5 separate regions of the Homo sapiens genome follow, and regions 2, 3, 4 and 5 are each linked to region 1. Evidence: promoter capture Hi-C in human tissues and cell types (Jung and others, 2019). All regions are on one chromosome and are shown on one strand. The core of a region is centred on a gene start or on the middle of the fragment in contact, and the rest is flanking DNA. Distances in the headings are between cores, read along the strand shown. Region 1 holds the start of PTPRZ1 (protein tyrosine phosphatase receptor type Z1). Region 2 has its middle 230 kb from the start of FAM3C. Region 3 has its middle 230 kb from the start of PTPRZ1. Region 4 overlaps PTPRZ1 (protein tyrosine phosphatase receptor type Z1). Region 5 has its middle 130 kb from the start of PTPRZ1.

Region 1 (3,460 bases), core at 458-2,957:
GACCACGTACTTTTTAAAGCTGTCTTCCCCTCTCCAGAACTGACTATAAGGTTTTAGAATCAATGGAGACCAGAGATTCCCTTGCATGTCTTATGTGTCAACTATGCATCACACCACCCCAAGCACTTTCATAAAGCCTTTGAAATTTAAATTATGTCCGTGTGTGGGGGTCTATGGGCAATTATCACCGTATTTGCAATGTAATTTTCATTTATTAGAACTTAAAAATAGTTTCTGTTTGTAAAGGTTACTGTGCCAAGAGCAGCACCATCTATTGGATGAAAATGTACGCTTAATATCTACTCTACTATGAACCATCTAAAATTGAAAAATTGGGAGCCTCTGAAAAGAATTAAATATGTGTACTCACAAAGCGAAGTACAACACTTTGTAACTTTCAGGTTAATGCGTAAACCCATTATATTCTATCGCGATGGAAAATCATGAAGGAAAAAAAGCATTTCTTTAATAAAACGCAAAAGTCCAATCTTGCACTTCTCGAAAATGACTGGAAAACTTGAGTCTGCATCGCAGGTAAAGGGAATGCTTAAACTGGCTATTGCTGAATGCAATTTCAGTTTTAAATGTAACCTGGAGGGTGCAGATGAAAAATGAAATCTGTGAATAAGTATATCAACCTGCAGCTCTCCTCTGACTTTGGCAGCACTGACCAAACCTAGAGATTTAGATGGAACTTTTTTTTTTGTAAGTAATTGCGCAGACTTGAATATGACTAAATTGAAAGTAATAAAAAAAACCCTGAAAAGTCAGGTTGGTGCTTGTGCCTGTTACTACCTTTCAGGTGTGTGTGTGTGTGTGTGTGTGTGTCTGCAATTCACACCAGACACGTGTACTTTCCATTTAAGCCCATCATACCTATAGCATAAAAATGAACAGCAAAAAAGACAGTACAGTACACAGCCCCGCACCACAGCTGTATTTCTGGTCATTTATCTTCCTATGTATATCTAAAAGGCGATTTCTACACTTTGCAAAAGAGGAGAGAAGAACGGTGGCGGCAGGGATCCGAGTAGCCCTCCGTCTCCAGTAGCTCCGTCTCCTGGGGCCCGGGGCACGAATGCCCGCGGGCCGATGGAAGGGGCGAGGGCGCGGGGCGGGGAGGGGGCGCGCAAATCCCACGCAGCTGCCTGCACCGCGCGGCCGCCCGCTCCGTGGGAGCCCAGTTGGCTGTCCCTTTTTCCTCCTGGCTAGATGGCGGCGGCGGCGGCAAGTCGCGGACACGCTGAAATGCTCCCACCCTCATCCCACCGATCCCGGAGCTGAAACCCCACCGAGCTCTTCTCACTCACCCAGGCGGCAAACACAGAGGAGCTGAATGCAAGCGAGGAAACGCTTTAGGATTCGCATTTCCAGACGGTCTGCGGCCCCTCGCCGTGCGGCTCCTCTGCTTCTCAGAGTGGAGAGGGAGGGGGAGCGAAGGAAATGTTTTTTTTGTTTGTTTGTTTTAATCCTCCAGTGTATAGATCGAAGTGAGATCGTGCGTGCGTATGTGTGTTTGTGTGTGTGTGTGTGTGTGTGAGAGAGAGAGAGACAGAGACAGAGACAGAGAGAGACAGTCAGAGACAGCGAGAGAGGAATAATCTGGAGAAAGCCGCACGGTGGTGGGGCCCGGGGCCGCTAGCCGAGGCGCATGTCCTCCGGCGTGCGGGACTTTGCCTCTTTCGCCGGCTGCGGCGGCCGCGGTCTGAGCGCTCCGAGAGCAGCGAAGCCTCAGTGCCGGGTGCGCGCTCCAGCCCGGCTGTGCGCGCCGCGGCTCCTGGAGGGGGCGGGGGCGCAGGACCGCTCCGCTGGGAGCGTGCCTCGGACCCGGGGTCGCGCGGGGGGCGGAGGGGCGCGGCTGCCGCTCTGGGTCCGGATCCCAGGGTAGCAATTCACACACCGACAATCCTCCCTCTGTCCGCTGCCAGTGGTTTCGCTGCCCTGGAGTTAGAGGGATCCGCTGGGGTTTCCAGTGTTCGCAGAACATTGGAACTCCTTCATCACTTCGGAAGGGAAGGGAAGGGAAGGCCGGACACCCATTGTCCCGCACAGCCAGAGGTTGACCTTTGAGTTTCACCTCTAAGAGTTTTTTTCATTTTATTGTTTTCTGCAGATGCTTAAGTGGGTCCAATCAGAATGCGGTGGGGGCGCCTGGGTACATTGTTTCCCTCCCTTTTTTCTTTCCATTTTCCTAATAAAGCAGTAGACCCCATTGCCTTTGGGAGAGTTGACTCCAAAAAATCTCCAGCCCTGATTGTGACCAGTCTGACCCTGCCCTTTCCCTAGACCCCAACGAAACTGCCGTGCTGGGCACAGCTGTCTGGGGGGACTTTCAACACGGCGGTGGTCCTGCCAGACCGAACCACACAAGTGCCTCCTCCCACAGGGTCGAACGGGAAGATTTTTTATTGCTTGATTGAAGGGTATGCAAAAAATGTATAATGCATACCTTCTGCTGCCTTAGAGCTGGAAATGTCACCCTCATGTGCTCTTTTCTTTGGTGGTGTTCAGAATTAGACTGTGAGCGCCTTGATGGCAGGGAGTTTACCTTTATTACTATAACCCCAGATCCTAGCAAAATGGCCTTAAAAAAAATCAATAGGTGTTCCCTGAATATTTGTTGAATTAATTTGAAGCCAAAAGGAAATAATGAGAAGGTAATTGGTGGTAGTCTCTACACTGAAAATTTATGAGATTTTCATTTATATGATATCCTTTAACTATTAGTACATGTTTTTCGTATATGAGACCCACTTTAGAGCCTTTTAGGAGTCCCATCTAAGGCACAGAAAGCCAAGTTGTGGAATTATCCCATGTATTCTTAGTAACAATTTGAAGTAGGTATCTGTACAGTGTATACTCTTGTGTCCTGTTCTTGTCTCAAAAATAGTATTCTAGCTTTAAAAATTTTAAAGAAAACTTCCTGCACATAAAATTGGGTTCTGAATGTATTTCAAGTGTTACTACGAGTTCTTGCTAATATCCCAGCCTGTGAACATTTGGCTAAATGTGCAAGCTAATGGCAGTTTGCTGTTGCTTCAGGAATAGATTATAGTCATGTAATAACAGATTTTGAAACCATTTAGTGTTTATTCAGAAACACATATCAATATTAAGAAGTTGATCCTTGATCTTATTCTTTCCATGAACAGAAATAGAAATGCTACAACTTTTACAAGAATTATGATGGGGATTGATGGCTGCTCATGTGAGTTTCCATATAGGAAGAAAATTTGGGGGCCATTTTTTTTTGCTAGCATTACAAGAAGTATGCAGGTGTATAAACTGACTGTGCACTGAGAGTTCAGAGAAAGTTTTATTTAATATTGACTGGAGTAGGCAGGAAAGCTTTCCTAGAGATGTGTAGTTAAACAAGAAGGACTAGCAGGGAAAAAAACCATGTCAAAGGCAGTGAGGACAGGAAGGAAAGAAGCAGATGTCATATGCCATTAAAAAAACA
Region 2 (3,460 bases), core at 704-3,203, 250 kb after region 1:
AACATTTTGCTAAGGAAGAATTTAAAAACTGCTTGAAACTACGAGTCAAAGGCTCTGTGGTCCAGATTGATAAAGTAACACATTTGGGACAGAACTTCACAGGGTCTATATGAGCCAGCTTAGATTATAAAAGCAATACTAGTGGTTGCCTGGCATCAGGCTATTTTCTGGGAAAGCTGTGTTAATGAAATGCAGTGTCGATTTTTTGGGCTGGTGATTTTGGGTTCATTAGCAAAGAAACATAGAGGGTTTCCTGCTCAAAACCCTTATGCTGAGAATTAGATGACCTCCATGAAACAGGCTCAGCAAATTCCCATGACGTCAGTCCACTGGGCAGTTTTCCGAGGCAGCACATCATGGCTGTGCCTTCTTAGCAATATTCCCACAAAGTGGAGAAAAGGTTGAGGGGGAGCAACTCTGCCCCTGCTGTCCACAAAATAAATAATTGAATCACATTGAGCCAGTCTAGCAGTACTGTGAGCTTTTCTCTAATAAAAAACAATTTTGATATTTTTTTCCGTGGAAATATATTTTTCTGATTCTTTCCAGATCAAATTTATACATACTCAGCTATTTAGATCCTAAAACGGAAGTTTAGAGTCAGGTGATGAGGCACAGAGCATCATTTCCTGGGAAGGCATGCATCCACTGGAACATAGATTAAGCTAAAAAAGGAGTGTGGAGGAGGTAGAGCACCAGCCAGGCTGGACTTCATGTTCTGTGAAGACCCTGGTTTATTATTACTACAGACACAGCTAATGCTTGTACCCAGTATTGTCTGCATTCTTTCCTATATTAGGAAACTTGAAAACTAGCAGAAGATAAAGTCAAAAGATTGCATAGGAACCCAAACTTGGTTTCCTTGAGAGAGGAGAGAATTTTGGATTAAGTAGATAAAAAAGCAGTAAGAATATTCTTCTTACTGTGGACTACTGCTATTCAATTTCTGTTCAGCTCTATTGAGTACATTGTTGAAGTGATTTATTCCCCACTTAGACTGTAAGCTCTTTAAGGTTAATATTTATCTTAAATACTCTATATCTGGAACACTTAGCACACAGTGACTGACATATTATAAATGTTTGATTGCTCACCTAAAATAATTTTTTATTTCATTTATTAATTTTGGTAAGTGAAGCAATTGTTCATCAGCCAATTTATTTTTCTTTCCTTCCCTCTGAGATTATATCTTGGCCTTCTGATCCACCCAGAAATACTATCATTGGATTCCTAAGAGATCCACTTTAAACCATATCAGCCCTTGAGGCTTTCTTTCAAAGAAAAGTCAGAAAGGCACTGAGTTGAACATTGGCAGTGTCTATCTAACAATTGTCCAGTGGAGGTGGCCATAGCCAAAGGACTCCAGGCATTCTGGGTTCATTCTCAAGACAATATCTACTGTGTAGCTAAATGCATTAGACTACCTGACTCCTATTCTCCTAGCTAGCTTTCTTTTCTGTGATTCTATATTTACTAAGCAGTCTTGTAATTATTATTTAGCTTTCCATGTAGTTCTTCCTGCAAGAAAAGAATGTGCTGCCAATATACACTATAATCTCTTCCCACAAATTAACAAATTAATATTCAAGGTTTATACATCAGTTTTGAAGTTTTATATAAGTTTGCCCCTGAGATGTGGGCAGGAGTGCTAAACAAAAGAACAAAGTAAAAGGAAAAAGAAAATGTCAAGTTTGTGAGCTGCAAGACTGAGAAACAGATCTAGCCTTCAGAAATGATCAAAGGAACAGTGGCCATCAAGTGGTTAGGTGAGGTCTTCTGGGACATAGCCTGGAGGCTTTTCCCCCAAGATGAGCACATACTTATCAGTTCATGCGCTTTCCATATACTTGACACACACTATGGTATTTCTCTAAAAGACGTTAATGACATTGCATTTTCTGCCATTTAGCTTCTTGGTCCCAAACATAGATTTGATTACTGGCTTGTCAAAAGCAATCTGTCTGAAATGCATTGGCTGTATATCTGGCTAGTTAAGAAATGGACATTTGAGTGGTCATTTCTACAGTCACCATACAATACCACTGCACAGCTCACCCAATCATTTCAGCCTCATTCATCATCTATACACGATGCTATGCGATTGCTTTGGAGTATAAGGAGAAACTTGACAGAATATATGATTATTTATGGTCTTACCAGTGCTCTAGCCTAGCTGCTTATCTGTGAATGATGAGCACTACACTGAATGGCTGACTCATTCATTTTACTCATTTTAACAATCCACGAGTGGGACTGATCAGCAGAAAAGCACACGAAACTTCCAGATCATCAGGATGCCTTTATGGGAGTATAGTTAAAGTTTTTACTATTCTGCTCTTCTAAGTTTTAGTTTCCAAATGGCCGCCACCAAACTTACTTTATTTATGCCTTACAGAATTTGTTGTTTATCCTCATGGTAGGTGAGGCAGGTAAGGTAAATATTATTTTAATTTGATTGTTGAAGAATGTAGCTTAGAAAGGTTAAATAATTATGGTAAGTCAAACACAGTTAATATAAGACAGAGCTGGAATCTGAAGCCAGATCTAATCGTCTATGAAAATATAATTCATGCATTAGTTCAAACTTTAAAACAGAGGTTCTTGCATTTTAGTGTACTATACTTAAGAATCATCTGGGACCCTGACTAGATATTGAACTAGTCCAAGCTACTAATTCCTTTTTCCCAAAACAGCTATGGTGAAACAACAAACAGAAACAAAGCAGGAAAAAAAAAAAAAAAAAAAAAAAAGAGGAAAACGTGGATCTAAGAATCTAACAAAAACCTGTGACAAACTTTTGGGGAAAACAAGGCGCTTGGGTTGAGAGGTACAGTACAGATATAACAATAGTAAGATTGGTTGGATAACAACTTTTAAATTACTTGAATTCAGCAGAAAATAGAAAAAGAAAGCTAGGAAATATGGAGTACAGCTGTAGAAGTGCCAAAACTGAGATAATAGAAGTTACAATGAAAAAGAAAAGGAATAAGGCAAGAAGAGACTATTTGAGAAATAATGAGGATAAGTTTTGTTGAAAGACTTAAGACTGCAAGGCCTTAAGGGGACATAGGAAAGATAAGGAAAACCTCACAGCCAGACATAGTATTATGAAATTTCAAAATATGAAAGAAAATCTAAAATTTTCCGAAATAACAGAAAAATCCTTAGAAGGAGGATTTGCTAGGTCTAAGAACATATGCATTTATAGTATTAATTGATAGCACCATGTTATTCTCTGTAAGAATTGCACTAATTTACACTCCCAGCAACAAAGTATAAGAAATGCCTGTTTGCCTTCAGTCTAGCCAACGCAGCACGTTATCAGGCTGGAATTTTTGACATTTTGATAAGTGGTATTTCAGTATGTTTTAAATTTACAATGATCTCATTATGAGCAAAGTTTAACATATTTTCACATGTTTAGAAACCATTTGGTATGTATGTCATTTAATATAAACCG
Region 3 (3,460 bases), core at 259-2,758, 230 kb after region 1:
GGATTTTTTTAAGTTGTGAGAGAAGTGTTCCAAAACTTGATTGTGGTGAAGGTTGCACAAGTATGTAACTTTCTAAAATAATCAAATTGTACATTTATAATAGGGGAATTATTTTGTATGTAAGCATATCTCAATAAAGCTGTTAAAAGTAAAACAAGAAGAAATAGAAAAACATGTTGCCAAGTTCTCTCTCTACAATTTCCCAAGGAGCTCTTCTCTGCAGAAGAGACAGAAAAATTTTAAGTCACCTTTCCCCTTAATACATACTTAAATTTATTATATCTATCTGCATATTTGCATACTCACTGTCTGTTTTTCTCATATTAGAAAATGCCAAACTTCTTGAAAACAAAAGTAATGGTTAATATTGAATCCACAGTGGTATCCCCTATCCAAGAATCCACTATATGTCTAAGATACATTTGCTGAATCCCTGAGTAATCAATGCTCCCAGCTCAAACACCAGCATTTATTTTAGCTACCTGGAGAAATGTCCTTCCTCATGATTTTTTCTCAAGATTAAACTGTGGTGTAATTCCAAGTTTTAGATATTGTTCACTTTTAAAGCCTCTGTGAACACACAAGGAGAAAAAATGGGGAGAAAGAGTTTGTACATTTTGGCAGCACTAATTCTGTCCTTCCATTTTTTTTTTTAAAAGTACATTACCACTCAGAAATTTTGTTTTTTTTTTGTTTTGAATCATTTTACCCTTTTTTCTCTCTATTGTCTCTTCTATAGCTTTGCTTTTCTAATAACCACTCCTTTCTTTGAAAGAAAAATTATAAACTGAGCAGGTGTTCAGTCATATTTGGATAATTTTCTTCCATTCACTGCTTCCTCAAAAATATTTCATCCTAGATTCTTAATTGAATCATGTCATCTATTCATTTATTATTCATAGAACAAAACATGATTGTTACATCTGAACCAGCCATGCAGTGAGTTGCATCAGTTTTTAAATAGTTTGAAGTGAATGAATCGGCTAAAATGAAGTGAATGCACTTCAGCATATGTTGACACTGCCGAAATCAGTGGGCACCGAGCAGCTGCTTAAAAAATGACAGTGGTACAGCCCTGAAAGTGATATTTGTAGGAATGATAGCCATTCAATCTTTTTCCTTCAGTATTATGCAGTGATACAGTTTGGATGTTTGTCCCCTCCAAATCTCATGTTGCAATGCAATCCCCAGTGTTGGCGGTGGAGCCTGGTGGGAGGTGGTTTTGTCATAGTGGTGGATCCCTCATGAATAGCTTGATGCTGTCCTTGTGATAGAAATAGTAAGATAGTTCTTACTCTGAGTTCATATGAGATCTGGTTGTTTAAAAGTGCGTGGCACCCCCTGACTTGTTCTCTTCTTCCTGCTTTCCCTATGTGATGTGTTGGTTCATCTTCACCTTCTGCTATGACTGTAAGTTCCCTGAGGCTCTAGCCAGAAGCAGATGCTAGCACACTTCCTGTACAACCTGCAGAACCATGAGCCAATTAAACCTCTTTTCTTTATAAGTTACTCTGTTCTGGTTACTTCTTTATAGCAAGGCAAGAAGGCCTGACACGTTCAATGTGCTCTAACCTCCTGCCAAGTAGTGTGCAAGGTTCAAGAGATGGAAAATTGGAAGCGAAAGTCCTTGGAGAAGCTCTCATTCAACTGAAAGCAAATATGGTAAGAGATAATTTTCTCTACAATGTGATTAGAACTATGATGTGATATAAATAAAATGTTGGAAGTGTTCACAGATGACATAATATGTTTCCCTTGTTTCTTCTGTTGCTATTACTCAGTGCTACAAACTTCATTTTTTTTCCTACTGTTTTTAGGAACAGATAAGAAGGCAAGAAAAGGATCATCACAAATATAGCCTGACTGGATGCTGTTTAGAGCAGTAGCTATTCTATATCCTCACATTCTCAGGTTCTATAATCTGAAAATAGCTAAATAAAAATAATAGCTGAGCCCAAACCACTGAGGTTGGTGTCAATTCTTTCATTACAAGAAACTATCTCAGGGGCTGTTGAATAAAAATAATGATTTTATTTTATTCCCCCCCCAAACCCATTAAAACACTAATAAAGGGAATTTTAAAATATACAAACTCAAAAAAAGATGTGAAGGATTGTAGAAAAGAGAATAGCAACAAAAGTTTGGACCAAAAGAAAATAAATAAGTGAATTTAAAAGACCCCCCCCACCCACCTACCCCAAATAAATTCTATATTCATATCTTCCAAACTTTCAGAAATTGATGGTACCATCCTCTGAAAGTGGAGAACGGTTGAAACTCTATTTGATAATAAGTAAGTCTATACATCCATCACCTCCAGCAAAATAAATAAGCAAATAAAATAACTGACTTTTATTCTCAAATACAGGATTTTTGGACTTCCAATATGAGAAAAGATATCTTTGGAAAGATAAAACTGACAGCATACCTGATACATTCGAATGTATGGAGATGAGCAAGACATATGCCAATGAGATTGAGATTGAATTATTGAGAAGTACATAGAAAGTACATAGTACACCAAATAATTGGCAGCAGCAACGAGGCCAACAACAAAACAATAAATACCAAGAAATAAAAGCTGTGTGTAGGAAAAAAATTAGCAGGGGTAATACATCCATATATCATAAATTGTATTTGCACAGTTATATAAACACAAAATATTTATACAAAATTAATATGAAATGTATATAAATAAAATAAAATTATGTTGGAGGATGAAAGTAAAAAAGTTACCATTCAGAGGTAACAGTAAAGAAAATAGAGTTAAAATTTTTCTTTTCCAAAGAGAAAATTTTATTCTGGTCAGTAAGCACAGCCTAAGACAGGAACATCATGAAAGGACGTATCAAGCATATGATTCAGGGACATAGGGGTTAATTTCAAAATAAATATGAAAATTGATGAAAGGATTGCTTCTGAAAAGAAGAAATACGTGTGTTTGGGTGGGGGTGGTTCTGGGATTTTTTTCTTATAAAACTACCAGATTATTTGACCTTTAAACTAAGTGTATGACAAAAATAATTAAAGAACCAAAAAGAACTTTTGCAATACCCATGCTGTTCATTTGTCATTTGCTTCCTTCTTGACACAGCCTATTCTTTCTAATAAGAGAAAAAGTCTATTAATTTTCTTTCTTTATCATTCTTAACTACTTCAAAGGAATTATTGAATTTTAGAAACTTGAAGCATGATGTTAGCTATAATAGGGATTTAAATTTGTTTCCAAAAGGTTATATGTATGTTAGAAAATTTCAGGTGACACATATTAATAATGCAACAAGCTGCATAAGAAAAGAGCACCAAGGCTTTGATGTTCCCTACCAAATTTGATGACCCCCAGCAATTCTGATAAAGATTTGATATTAAAGCATGATTAGTACTAGATATTCATATAGTTGGTTTCTGACTATATAAATATCAGAAACATGGAGAAGAGAATGGGAGAAGGAATGAATGC
Region 4 (3,460 bases), core at 346-2,845, 130 kb before region 1:
CGTCTAGTCTTCTAGCTAGAAGTTAACCAAGACCTATGCTTTAAGCATAATCTTCATTGCATGGAAGATTCAATATATGTATATATATACATATACGTATATATACATAAAACTGGGTATATTATATCTAATTATATACTTAGAAAACTCAATTGCCAAAGTTATCAAGTTTTTTTTTTTTTTTTAGTTCATGTGGGACATGATTTTGTCAGTATCTTTGTACCCAACAGCTTGTTAGAATTGTCATTTATTTGATCATCTATTAGATATTTTAAGGCCATGTTCCTTAAAAGAAAAAAATTACTGAGTACAGCCATTGAGAACTTGACCAGTATCAGTAGAAAGAATCTGAATCTTAAGCTGTGTGTGCTCATGAGCATGTGTCATACACACGGAAATCTGCACTGTATGAAACACACGATTCCAAGCTTAATGGCTGCCTCATTATTTACAGCTTAATTATTTGGCTGGTCGTGAGTATCTTCTGAAGCATAAGTGACAACTTTAGGAAGTTAGTGCACTTGATCTGAATTATATTGAGTGCTAAAAATGGCTACTCTCTCAGATTCCCTTGAAAAATTTCCTTACAAGTAGTCAGTATTCTTTATGAAGTTTTACATTCTGTGTGATACCTTGTTCACAAGGACCACCTGAGAGATTTTCCCAAATAATTTCCTAAATAAAATATTCCTATAATCTACAAACCTAAAAACTTAATGCAAAAGGAAATGAGAATAATTTGCCTTGACTTGCTTTTAGGGAAAATTGGTTGGTGCCAATTATCTCTTCTTTCCTTAGAAGTTCTCATAAATATTTGTTTTATAATGTGATGCAGAGTTTTGCTGGGGATCAATGTTAAGCTTGGCAGTGTGGAGTTTCTAAACTCTTCCTTGTTTTTGCAAACCTAAATATTTGCCTAGTTTTCTGGTATCACTCCACACTCCTTCTCTCTACCAAAACTCTGTCAAACCTTCATTTTCCTATCCTTTCCTCCCATTCTCAGCAGATGGCCTTCCTGTTTTCAGGGAAAATAGAAGCCACCAAAGACACACTTCTTCTTAACATAAAAACAGGGACCAACCAAGTTATCTCTGCCCCTCCTGTCCTGTTATAACTAAAGAGTTGTTTTCCTTCCTTTCTAAAGCTAATTCGCACTTCTGTGTTTTAGATCTAGTCCCTATCATGAACCTGGGAATTGAACATAATTGAGTAGTTCAGTCTATTTTGTGTTTCTGATTTGTTTTCTCAAATTCTCAAACAGATAATTCTCATCAGCTTAAATCAACTCTGATCTCTCTTATTTAAAGGAAACACAAAGGAAAACCTCTAATTCACCTTCTAGTTATCATTCTACTTCTCGTCTCTCCTTCACAGCAAAAGTTCCCCAAAGATATGTCATCCATTTTCTCTATATGATCTAACAATGTCTATTGACTTCCACAATAATATTACATTTCTTTCTCTTTGCTTATATTTCCACATAAACATCCTTTATCATATCCTCCTATAAGCAATGTAAATTTTCATAAAATTTTTATTGTAACATAATGCTACACACCTCTTCTTATTACATAGTTGGGAAAAAACTATGCACACATCAGATACATATGCGTTCTATAAACTTTATGAGGTTCAGAACCTCTCAGAACCCAGTGAGGGTGATTAGACCTTCATTAATCCTACCCTACCATATCTTGTTGATCGCTGTAAGGTCACATTGGCTATGTCAACATTTTAAGAAGAACATATCATTCATACCCTATGATTACTTTATTCATATCTGACTACAAATATTTTAACAAATACTCTTTCCTACAATTTCTTTATAGAGTTATTGTGACTCTTCCACTGTAGTTTTGATCTGTGTCATATGTTATCCTTCACAACTTCATTTTTAAAAGTTAGTGTAAAGCCATGATCATGCTACAGATACTTTGTCTTGCAAAGTCATACATTTCTGTTTGGAGAGGATCTAAGAAATATCCTTCAAACTCTTTATTTCTATATTCAGGGATTAAAAGTCATTATGAATATATTCCATGCATTTTCCAGCCTGTCATTCATTCCTGCATGAAGCAAAGGAAGTGAATAGTGGATTGGTTAAGAAGTGTTTTCATCCCATCTCATAATCATGCTCCAGGAAGACATATTGTGACATGGGTCTCTTTCGATTTGACAATATATTATTAATACAATAGTTAATTTCAATAGCAAGAACTACTACCAATTTACCAAGCCAAGCTTACCAATCACTGCTCCTGTATCCTTTATTTTAAATCCCCATCTGTGTGGTGGTAGCTGGTTCCCTCCCCCTTGGCAGTGCCAAGGATTCTTCCAGCTCAAAGAATTAGAGCTGCTGTTTCTTTGGGTACTACCACCATGGGTAAAGCCCCACAAACCAAATAAGCCTAATGTCATAAGAATTCTTTCTCCTCCTCATTTTCCTCTAGATCATAGCCTTCTACCAACAAGTAATGACATTGATTTTTAATTCTACTCTGCTTTCTCAGGTGACTCCTTCCTCAGTGTGTTGTATATTCTCATTTTGCTTTCCACAGCCTCTCTCCACCTGTCTCCATTCATTCTAGGCGGGTGGCCAGATAATGTGGTTATTCCTTGGGAGGTTCCTTACCTAACTGGTCACCACAGGATGGTGCTGTCTCATTACAGAGGCCACAGCATCTGCTGTGCCATTCTCTCTGCACCTTCTCCTTGCCCTCTTGCCTTTCAGTTTAGATGTAACAACGAGTCCCTGATATAATTCATACCAAATGTACAATGCCACCCCTTGTTTGTTTGCATTAAGACTTCCCACACCTGTGAATCATCCTTTTTGATTAAATTAACCTCCATGACTCCACTTGAGTGTGGCATCTGTTTCCTGTTGAGACCTGGGCTGATGCACTGAGGCTTTTTTTTTCCTCCTATCTAGGAACTTTTCTCTGACTACAACAAGCCAGCCTGCTCACATATCTTCACATTCTTCTCTAACAGGAAGATCTGCTTGTGTTTGTCATATATGTACATGGCAAGACCAGAGGCACCATGACAGGAATAGCTTTAGGTATCTCTATTGTAGAGTGTATGACAAAAATAAAGATATACCTCCATTATGTAAGTGGAATAAGCCAGGAACAGAAAGATAAATACTGCATGTTCTCACTCTTATGTGGAAGCTAAAAAAGTTGATCTAATAGAAGTAGAGTGTAGAATAGTGGTTATTAGAGGCTGAGAAATGTAGTGGCGAGGGGGCGACAGGCAGAGATTGGTTAAATGATACAAAATTACAGCTAGATAGGAATAATAAGTTCTAGTGTTTGATAGCACTATAGGATGACTACAGTTAGCAATAATATATATTTTCAGATAGGTAGAAAAAAGGATCTCAAATGTTTCCAACACAGAAAAATGGTAAATGTTTGAGATAATGGATATGCAAACTACTCTGATTTGATCACTA
Region 5 (3,460 bases), core at 545-3,044, 130 kb after region 1:
ATCAAGTCTCAGCAATTCCTTCAGAAAATTTAAATTAATTCAATGAAATTTTACTACAGATAATTTGTGGAACTGGAATAATTGTTCAATGTTGCTCTTTTTGCAGCATTTAAACTTTGAATTATTAAATTAATAATGGTCCTTAGTACCTCATTATAATATTATATGGCTTGCAGTTAGGTATGTGAAATACCCCAAACCATTAACAGCCCCTATAAATGAGTATTGTTGCAGCATAGAAAAATAGCATCCTCTCTCCTGTTATACTCAAATAATTGAGTGAGAAAACTGCTATAAATTACAAACGTTTTGTCATAAAAATTATATTTAATTAAAATATAGATTAAAAACTAGGACCAGCTTTTAGTAACCGGTATTACAAGCATCAAACATCTTGAATTTTCCCGATTCTCAAAAGATATGATTTAACCAGCAAGATGAACCTCCTTGGGGCAGACTGAATCAGCTCTTGAAAACTCAGTGAGCCATGCTGTTGCCATTCATGGTCGTCCCCATTAACTTTCCTTTTAGAATTAGGTCAGGCATGAGCATTGGCTGTGTAAGATACAAAATATCCTGGAAATAGTCAGGATAATTGTTGGTGAAGTGTTACTACATCCACTCTTGCCCCTCTCTTCTTTCCTTCTTTTTGTATAGTGTTTTTTTTTTTCTCTCCACTGATATATTAAGGCTTGCCTATGAAGCCCGAGGCGTTAATTCACTCTGAGAGTCAAGTTAGTTTAAATATCCCTGTTATAACCTTACAACCCACTGGAATCAGGGACCCTATCAATGTGCCTTGACCACCTATGGTGGTATCTAGTGCCTAGCAGAAAGCCTGCCATATTAACACTCAGTAACTCAACAACTCAACAAAGCATGTTAAATGTGAATGAAAATGCTTTTATTAGGCAGTTAACGCATTTGAAACACTGGCTGGGCTCTGTGCTTCTTTTAAAAAATTTTGTAAATATGGCTGAAAATTTATACATTTAACTCAGAGTGTGTATAATCATATCGTGTATACACACATATATCTACTATATATCACATATATATCTACTATATATGTGATATATAGTAGACACATCTACTATATATGTAGATATATGTAGTAGATATATAGTATATATATCTACATATATATGTAGATATATAGTATATATATCTACTATATATGTAGATATATAGTATATATATCTACTATATATGTAGATATATAGTATATATATCTACTATATATGTAGATATATAGTAGATATACCATATCTTATATATATTTTATATATACTATATATTAAAGTAGATATGATATATAGTAGATATATCATATATATGACATATATAGTAGATATATGTGTGTATATACTATATATAGTATATATATACTATATATAGACATACACATATATTACATATATAGTTGTGTGTATACATTTAATTAAAATATAGATAAAACTATATATGTGTGTGTGTGTGTATATATATATATATAGAGAGAGAGAGAGAGAGACAGTGTACCATATTTTATTTCAATCTGTAGTAGGGGTGCAGGGTGGGAGGAATGAGGACAACTTTCCAAATAAAATAAATTGCCTCACATAGTTACGATTTTTGTGATGAGAATACTTTACATCACTCTCTTAGCACGTTGCAAGAATACAATATATTATTAACTGTAGTCACCACTTTGCACAATATATCTCTTGAACTTATTTCTCCTATTTAACTGAAATTTTGTATCCTTTGCCCAACCCCCATGCTCCCCAACCACCTCAGCCTCTGGTAACCACCATTCTACTCTCTACTTTTATGAGATCAACTTTCTTAGATGCCACATCTGAGTGAGATCATACGGTATTTGTCTTACTGTGCCTGGCTTATTCAAAATATCATGTTGTATGCAGTAAATAGCTACAATTTTATCTGTTAAAAAAATCTTAAAGCAAGTTAGTGTTTCCCACCATATTACCATCCCTTTTTGTGGAAGGTGTAAATACTTCATCTTTCCTATTTTCTTCTATCTCTTCCTTTTCCAGATGGACTCTAAATAAGGAAGTTAAGTTTTATGTGCCTTCTTGTGATGAAGATGGATCCTCACACTTATACTGTGCTTTAAGGTAACGCAGGCTCTTATGTTGAAGTCCACAGCTGTGAAATATTGGTGAAGCTCCCATGTTGTTTGGCCATCTCTGTTGCCTCAGCCCAACCTTGCCTCTAACTGTGTTGTCAATCACAGTTGGGCTGTGGCTGGGCTGAAATTCCCACTCAGCACATTCATTTCGGGCATCTCATCTGCTAACCACCATTTTTATTCTGATGTGACAGCCCCGTTTTGTTTTCCTCTGAGGTAATTTCCTTCCAGTGTCTGAACAAAGAAGTTGGGTTAAAGGTTTCCCCATATCCCCTTTGACTGATTCTCCTTTTAAAACCTAATCCTTGCTCTCCGGTGCATGCTTTAGGTTTGAATCGTGAGGTTTGGGGGGCGGGGTTGGAATTTAGGTCACTGCCTGACCACTGTTTTCACTCCCTGTTCCCTTTCCTCCTCCTCCTCTAGGTCCAGAAAAGTTTTCTTGTTTTTCTTTTTCCTTTTTTTTTTTTTCGCCTTTACTGTATGTCAGTGACTTCTCCTAATGTCATATCCTCCTCATTCTGGGGGTAGCATCAAGGGAACACGATTTACACAGAGAAATAAGAACACATAAATTTAATATTTTCCAAGTATTATATATATGCTATTCATTTTACCCAAGAGAAAGCTAAAGCTGAAAGAGGTTAAAGTAAGTTGCTTGCAAAATAACAGAGCCTAGATACAAAGCCTGGCTATAAAGTATTATGATAACACTATGTAGTTTGGAGTTTCTGAGTGTTTTAATCCAAAATTAGGAGCTTATCTCTCTTTGCAATTTTATCGCCAGATATTGCTTCTTATCAAATTAGATCAAATTAAAAACTTAATTTGATAGCACTTCCTTTGTTTTTTATTTTTTTAGACGGAGTCTCACTCTGTCGCCAGGCTGGAGTGCAGTGGCACAATCTTGGCACACTGCAGCCTCCACCTCCCGGATTTAAGCAATTCTCCTGCCTCAGCCTCCTGAGTATCTGGGACTACAGGTGCGTGCTGCCATGCCTGGCTAATTTTTCTGTATTTTTAGTAGAGACGGGGTTTCACCATGTTGGCCAGGACGGTCTTGATCTTCTGACCTCGTGATCCTCCCGCCTGGGCCTCCCAAAGTGCTGGGATTACAAGCATGAGCCACTGCGCCCAGCCAATTTGATAGCCCTTTCTTAATCCCTTATAATGTTTGGCATGTGCGACCATAAGAAATTGCCCTAATTAATTAATTTGACAGAACATAGCTTGTATGCAAAAATGAATTAATGATTAGATAAAATTAAAATCTAAATTAGGGACACACATCTTCTACTTTTCACTCATGGTAGGGAGATTAGTTTCAGT

The links. Contacts are between HindIII fragments. The study calls those that stand out against the background at their distance.
Region 2: a contact is called between a fragment that was not itself captured here and the fragment with the promoter of PTPRZ1 in region 1, in 2 of the 25 tissues and cell types used here (H1 embryonic stem cells and hippocampus).
Region 3: a fragment that was not itself captured here is called in contact with the fragment with the promoter of PTPRZ1 in region 1 in 2 of the 25 tissues and cell types used here (H1 embryonic stem cells and dorsolateral prefrontal cortex).
Region 4: a fragment that was not itself captured here is called in contact with the fragment with the promoter of PTPRZ1 in region 1 in 2 of the 25 tissues and cell types used here (H1 embryonic stem cells and adrenal gland).
Region 5: a fragment that was not itself captured here is called in contact with the fragment with the promoter of PTPRZ1 in region 1 in 1 of the 25 tissues and cell types used here (hippocampus).

Annotation. Positions count from the first base shown.
Region 1 is chr7:121,871,408-121,874,867 of GRCh38, reverse strand. PTPRZ1 (protein tyrosine phosphatase receptor type Z1) reads right to left here and starts at 1,707. Exons shown (of 30, transcript NM_002851.3): 1 at 1,311-1,707. The coding sequence starts at 1,368. RefSeq lists an enhancer at 1,250-1,751. The HindIII fragment of the contact is 8,425 bases long and covers 1-3,460 here.
Region 2 is chr7:121,622,006-121,625,465 of GRCh38, reverse strand. No RefSeq gene overlaps it. Among named protein-coding and RNA genes, the nearest start is that of FAM3C, 230 kb to the right of the region's middle. The HindIII fragment of the contact is 9,273 bases long and covers 1-3,460 here.
Region 3 is chr7:121,641,833-121,645,292 of GRCh38, reverse strand. No RefSeq gene overlaps it. Among named protein-coding and RNA genes, the nearest start is that of PTPRZ1, 230 kb to the left of the region's middle. The HindIII fragment of the contact is 6,391 bases long and covers 1-3,460 here.
Region 4 is chr7:122,006,183-122,009,642 of GRCh38, reverse strand. The region is part of intron 11 of PTPRZ1 (protein tyrosine phosphatase receptor type Z1); the gene reads right to left. Among named protein-coding and RNA genes, the nearest start is that of PTPRZ1, 130 kb to the right of the region's middle. The HindIII fragment of the contact is 3,900 bases long and covers 1-3,460 here.
Region 5 is chr7:121,738,435-121,741,894 of GRCh38, reverse strand. No RefSeq gene overlaps it. Among named protein-coding and RNA genes, the nearest start is that of PTPRZ1, 130 kb to the left of the region's middle. The HindIII fragment of the contact is 5,727 bases long and covers 1-3,460 here.